Linked DNA regions of Homo sapiens: region 1 is linked to region 2. Evidence: promoter capture Hi-C in 16 types of primary human blood cells and fetal thymus (Javierre and others, 2016). All regions are on one chromosome and are shown on one strand. Each heading gives the region's core, a stretch centred on a gene start or on the middle of the fragment in contact. The rest is flanking DNA. Distances are from core to core; before and after follow the strand shown.

What was found. The method cuts DNA at HindIII sites, captures the fragments that hold promoters and counts their contacts. A CHiCAGO score of 5 or more calls a contact.
Region 1: a contact is called between the fragment with the promoter of PPM1A here and the fragment with the promoter of ACTR10 in region 2, in 2 of 17 cell types (naive CD8 T cells and naive CD4 T cells). The highest score is 5.1, in naive CD8 T cells.

The regions. Positions count from the first base shown.
Region 1 is chr14:60,247,316-60,250,565 of GRCh38, reverse strand. It overlaps PPM1A (protein phosphatase, Mg2+/Mn2+ dependent 1A), which reads right to left and starts at 1,345. Exons shown (of 6, transcript NM_021003.5): 1 at 889-1,345. RefSeq lists silencers at 362-1,101, 1,302-1,401 and enhancers at 1,502-1,851, 1,912-1,961, 1,271-1,999, 2,542-2,791. The HindIII fragment of the contact is 6,782 bases long and covers 1-3,250 here.
Region 2 is chr14:58,198,817-58,201,994 of GRCh38, reverse strand. It overlaps ACTR10 (actin related protein 10), which reads right to left and starts at 1,846. Exons shown (of 13, transcript NM_018477.3): 1 at 1,701-1,846. The coding sequence starts at 1,777. RefSeq lists enhancers at 1,464-1,653, 2,274-2,403 and a silencer at 1,814-2,203. The HindIII fragment of the contact is 4,366 bases long and covers 1,488-3,178 here.

The sequences.
Region 1 (3,250 bases), core at 96-2,595, 2.0 Mb before region 2:
CACACAGATCCCATGGCTTGGACAACTGAAGCATGACTTTTGTGGATTTGTACCATGTGGTGTTTCAGGAGAGAAGAAAAATACCTCAGGTGATGAAATTTTCAAAACGTATCTAAAACTGCAGTTGGTAGAAGGCTCTCCACAGCCAGCTGTCTTTCAAGAAAAGGCTCCAAGTTTATTTAAAATCTACAAGCAGAACAGAACCATACCTCAACCAAGCTCTAACATCAAGAAGTTTTACCCGATTTACGTAGTTAAAAGGATAAGAAATCGGAATTTACTTCAATGGATTTGTTCGATGCCTTAATAATGAATGAACTAGAGGCATCACTCACTGACTTGAGTTCTGAAGGAGTCTCTCAGCCCTGCCCCCTGTAAAACCTTAAGCAATTTCTACAGAATTAGGTTTTTCGAGGCTAAGCCCGGTTCAAAGGAAGTCTCCCCGCCTCCCTCCCAGGGGCTGAAGCCCAGGACAGCCGGGGCGGCGCGCCCGAGCGGGTGGGGGCGCGGGGACGCCCCCTCCCCGCTCGGGAAAAGTTCTGCAGGCCGCTCTCCGGCCAGGCCGGCCTGCGGCCGTCGCCTGCTTCGCCGCCACAAACACCCATCTCGGCCGCGGACGGCCAGAGGGTCGCGCCCCCTCCCCGCGCCACCGCAACTAACACCCCGCCCCCGCCTCCCCGCCACCGCCCTCGCCGAGCGTTAACCCCTCGCCGTCCGCCGCCCGGCTCGGGGGAGGAGGCCGGCCAGGGGGTGGAGTTGTCGCGTCTCCTCCCGGGAGCGCCCGGGCAGACGCCCGGCTTGTTTACAGGCCCCAGGCCTGCCCGCCGCCGCCGCCGCGCAGGCCCGCACCGCCCGCCAGCCCGCCGTCGGCCCGAGCGCCGCACTTACCCGGAGCAGCCGCAGGCGGGCAGGTCCCTGGTCGGCCGAGGCGGCGGCGGCGGCAGCCGGGGAGGGGGTCACCGCGGCGGCGACGGCGGCAGCCGGGGGAGGGGTCACCGCTGCAGCGGCGGGCCAGGTCAGGCTGGGGAAGGGGCGGAGGAGGGGAGGAGCCGGGCTGCGTCCGGGCCCCCGGCTGTCGGCGCCCTCGCGGCTCAGATCATCCGGGCGTTGGAGAGGGAGGCAGAGAGCGGGTCCCGGAGAAGGAGGAGGAAGAGCCGAGGACTCATCGCTTTCGCGCCTCAGCTGTCTAGAGTCCCCCCACCCCCCCCTCCCCAACCACCCGTTCCGGAGCAACAGCCGCCTGAGGACCCGAAGCTGCGGGCCGGACGAGCGCCGAGACCACTGCTCTCTAGCTCCCGCGCGCGCTCCCGTCCCTAGCGCCGCCACCGCCGCCGCCGCCGCCTCTAGCGCGGCCCCGCGCAGGCGCGCTCACGACCGCGTCGCCCCTCCCCCACCCCTCCGCTCGCCCCGCCCCGCTGGCTCCGCCGCCGCTACAGCTGCGGCGCGGCGCGCAGCTACAGAGACCCGGATGTCGTTGGGCAGGAACTGCGGTGAGGGCTGGCGGGCGGGGGAGGGGCCGCCACAGATGACGTCACTGCCTTACCCAGCTTCTTTCTCTGCCGCTGCTGCTGCCGCCGCCTTTGCCTTACGGCCTGGAGCACCAGGCCGAAGCCGAAGGGAGCGTCCGGATCCCGGATAGCAGCCAGGACCCGGGCCTTCACGTTCCGGCGCCAGGGACTGGACAGAATGTGCGGCTATTAGGTGCCCAGTAGATCGACAGCCCCTCCGTGCCGGCCCTTGGCCAAGTAGGGACTCGGAAGCTACCCCTACGGCGTCCGCGCCCGGAGCCCTGGCTCTTCTACCTGCCTGCAGATACAAACCCCACTCCCTGCGAAGATGGTGTACACGCAGCCCCGAGCACAGACCCGAAGCTGTCCACCCTTCTTGGGCGCCGTCGCGGTCTGGCCGCTGCCCTTCGAACCCATGGTGGGTCCCAGGCAGCTGCCAGACCCCCCTACCCCAGAGTCCCACTCCTCCAGAGCCTTCCTCTCCCAGTGACCCCAGGAAGCCCAAGCAGGTGCCACGGCCACACACCTCGCGACCCAAAGGGCAGAGACACAAGCACGCTACCACCGCCCACCAATGTGCGAGTGCAACTGATTCACGCACGGGGCACATGCTCTGAGTTTCTGGCAGGTTTTCCCTCTATAGTTCAGGGGATTCCACATTGTATTTATTTGCACATGTTAGATAATCACGTGGTTCTGTCCCAGGGGACCTCCAACGACCTCCAATGAGGTAGGTTAAGGGAACAGGATTTTTCAAAATCAGGAGAATAATCAGAAACATAACAGCTGCTTCTATTAAGAGGTAGAGATGAGCTAAAGTTAATAGAAACTGCACGTGCCAGCGGCCAAAATCCAGTTTAGCTAGCTGGAAAACCCGACCCACGCTGCTTGCAGACGCCGGGGATAGAATGACAAACCCTAGGCAGCCAATGAATCGCAGCCTAGGAGCAGTACATCACCAGCACGGGTTCCCATTGGCTGGGGTGCCCTTCCCTCTCTTGTCAGCGGCTTAACCAGTTCACGAATTTGACCTACACCACATTCGCAGGAAAAGAAGTTAGAAGAAAAGTCCGTATTTTTAAAAGATGTTCTGATGCACACACAAACCAAAGACTTCATTGTAGAAGGCAGGTTCTTTTACTGGCCAAATTGAGTTCTGGCCAGTAAAAAAGGTAAATTTATGTTGAAGGCCTCTCTATTTTACTTGAGGAGCTCACTATAGCAATTTGCACCCTACTACTTTCTATCTCCTAAACCATTTTGTTGCCCCAACTCTTAGATCAAAAGCAACCTATTTATTCTTTCTGGCATTCAGCAAATATTTAGCTGCTGCTTTTAAAGTTGTAAAAAGCCATCTCTAATTTTCTCAACATGACTTTGGGGAAGGTTCTGTTTCCTTCACTTTTTTTTTTTTTTTTTTTTTTTTTTTTGAGACAGAGTCTCGCTCTTTCATCCAGGCTAGTACAGTGGCACAATCTCGGCTCACTGCAAGCTCCGCCTCCCGGGTTCATGCCATTCTCCTGCCTCAGCCTCCCGAGTAGCTGGGACTACAGGCGCCTGCCACCACGCCTGGCTAATTTTTTTGTATTTTTAGTTCAGACAGGGTTTCACCGTGTTGGCCAGGATGGTCTCGGTTTCCTGACCTCGTGATCCACCCTCCTCGGCCTCCCAAAGTGCTGGGATTACAGTCGTGAGCCACTGTTCCCGGCCAGAATTCCTTAGAAGATGATCGTGGATCATTT
Region 2 (3,178 bases), core at 597-3,096:
GTCTCGCTCTGTCGCCCAGGCTGGAGTGCAGTGGCACAAACTCAGATCACTGCAGCCTCCGCTTCCCAGGCTCAAGCGATCCTCCCCCCTTGGCCTCCCAAAGTGCTAGGATTTCGGGCACGACACTACCGCCGGCTAAATTTTGTATTTTGTGTAGAGCTGGGTTTCCCCATGTTGCCCAGGCTGGTCTTGAACTACTGGGCTCAAGTGGTCAGCCCGCCTCAGCTTTCCAAACTGCTGGAATTACAGTATTATTTTTAAAACCACATATTTCATTATTTTAAAAACGATGCTCTTTTCTTGAGTATTTAGGTATTTCCATTTTTGTTTCATGTTAGTAAAACAAAAATTTGCTAAAAACGTTGCTAAAAATGATCATCATACTAGTTTAGTCTTAACATCCTGTCTTCTTGTCCTGTCTAGTTTTTGATACTGCTCTCCTCGTATTCCCAAATAATTCTCTCCATCTCCTCCTATTCCCGTCTCCATGTTTACTTGCATCAGTGCTCCTCAAACATCTCAGAATGCAAGCCATTAGACTTCAATTCCTTTTTTTTACTTCATACATTTATCTTATCATCCTCCTGCTGTCTTTTTCAAATATAGCTTTTTGCTTATTTCTTCCAAGTACAGCCAAAATAATTATCTTTGACTAGAAGCCTCGAACTGTTTATTACGCTTTCAAAATAATTTTAATAAGAAAATATAAATAAGGAAGGGCCTCGCATAGAACAATAAGAGAATGTCATTAACCAAGGACTATGTTTAATCCAATTCTGGAGTTCCTGGGGTCCAATTTTTAAATAGGCTCTTTTAACCACTTAGTCAATAAATAGTTATTAAATACCTACTACACGTCAGGAAGTGCCTAGAGATATAAAAAGATTTTTCAAATGTTTCATTTTCATAAATACATATATGATGTAATTGCCTGTTACTTCCCTCTCTGTTGAGCCCATCACAAGGACTCTTAATCTAGGGTCCCAGGACCACATTGATTGTCTGCCAATTCCCTGAAACTGTGTATAAGTACCTTAAGATTTGTGCATTTGTGGTTTTCATCCAGCCATTAAAGAGATCTATGCCATCCGAAAGGTTGAGAACCTCCTCTCTATTGTTTACAAGTTGGTTTGTTTAAAACATGTCAAATCTAACCTTCGAGTTTAGGGGAGCCAACAAAGGATTTCCAGAATCTTATCTATAGGGTTTCACCTCTTAATGTGCCCAGTCTCCCTAATTCTTGAGCAGCGATAGCCCTGTCTTAAACATCTTTCCATTTTCAGCACCAAAATAAACTCCGTTCAATATTTTATGATGAAATTCGTCATCGAGCATTTACATTCGGTTGGCTGCCTTCCTCAACTGAGGAGCCCAGGGTAAGCGGGGTCTAGGTCACGGTTGTCATCCCCTACACAGATGATCCCAAAGGGTTTGTTGGGTTTGGGGTGATGACAAGGGGCGGCGACGAGGGCAATTCAACAGAAGCTTTCTGGGCCTCTCTGGGAGTCAGACCCCGATCCTCGGATTCGCATCGCCCAGGGAGGAAATAATAAGAGCTGTTATTTGCAAGGGCGCTGGTTGAAGAAAAGGGGAGGCCCGGAGCTGCCCAGCGAGTCGGCGATGAGGACCCAGGCAGTGCCTGGGGCTCTGCCACCCGCCCTCCCCTCGGGTCGAACACAGCTGGCGTCACGGCCACTCACTTGGTAAAGGCCTCTCCCAGGTCGATCACGACCGCCGTCTTCTCCCCGCCGCTCCCCAGGCCCTCGTAGAGCGGCATGGTAGTAAGGCAGACTGAGAGAAGAGGGTCGCAGTCTCCGCGGCCAACAAGTCTCGGCGCTCGCGGGGCGGGGCCGGGGCTCCGGCGCTCGGGCGTCGGCGACGGCGGGGGCCTCGCGCGGCCGCGGCGCGCCGGGCCCGGGCTGTCCCAGGCTGTGCCTCATTCCGCGTTGGACCCACCCTTGCAGGTGCTGCCGTCGCCAGGACTAGGGGAAAAGAGGCGCTGGCGGGCGCGAATCCGAGTGCGGGGGCGCGGAGGCCGCGGCGATCAGGCGCGCCGGTCGCCCTGAGGGGGCGGAGCCGGCCTCCCTATCCTTCCCTCCCACCACGCCCCAAAGCCGCACCCACGCGCGGCTGTGAAGAGGTTCGGTCTCAGCTCACTGTGAAGAGGTCACTGAGGACCTGGCTGCCAAGGGGCAGCCGAGAGACGACGCAATTCCGAACCTTTGATTCATGCTCTTGGGGGGCAGAAGATGCTGAGACCCTATTCTGTGCTAGGCGTTTTGCCTAATATTTAATCTTCTCAAGAAATAACAAGAATATGTGTTTTCTTATCTGTGGGGACCGACGCTCAGAGAGATTAACTTTCCCAATGTCCCACGGCAGAGCCAGGAACAAACCCACAGACTTCCTAATTGCAAAGCCTATGCTAATGATGCTTTAGAGAATAATACGTACAGACAATACTTTAGTTAGTAGTCTTTCTGAAAGTTTTTATTTTACTCCAGAATTAAGCAGCTAGAGTAGCGTCTGTGAATCTTGAATCTGTCCATAGAGGAGCGGTCGGGATGGTTTAATAGAAGAAACATTGAAGCAAAGGCCCCTATTAGGTTGGTGCAAAAGTAATTGCTGTTTTTGCCACTACTTTTAACATTTACATTACTGTTTACATCTTTGTCACTTCACAGCTTTCTGTGAAAATATTTTTTTCCTGCAAATATTAGCTCTAACTGTATCTATGCATAGGAGTGGAAAAGACTGTCAAAGGAGAGGCTGTGCAATAAGAAAAGAGGTTCAAGGGTAAATCGGTGAGGACTAGCAACATTTAGCTGGTGTACTGGGTTGAATGATGCCCCCCCCCCCAAAATTCTTGTCCACTGGGAACCTCAGAATGTGACCCTATTTGGAAATAGAGTCTTGGCAGATGTAATCAAGTTAAGATGAGGTTATACTGTATTAAGATGTCCCAACTGTCCGAGCGCAGGATCACACCTGTAATCCCAGCACTTTGGGAGGCCGAAGCGGGAGGATCCCTTGAGCCCAAGAAGTCTAAAGCGGCAGTGAGTCGGGATTGTGCCGCTGCACTCCAGCCTGGGCAACAACAAGAGTGAGAGCCTGTCTCTCAAAAAAAAAAAAAAAAAAAAAAAAGGCCCTACTCTAATGGTTGGTAACTAGAGTTAGC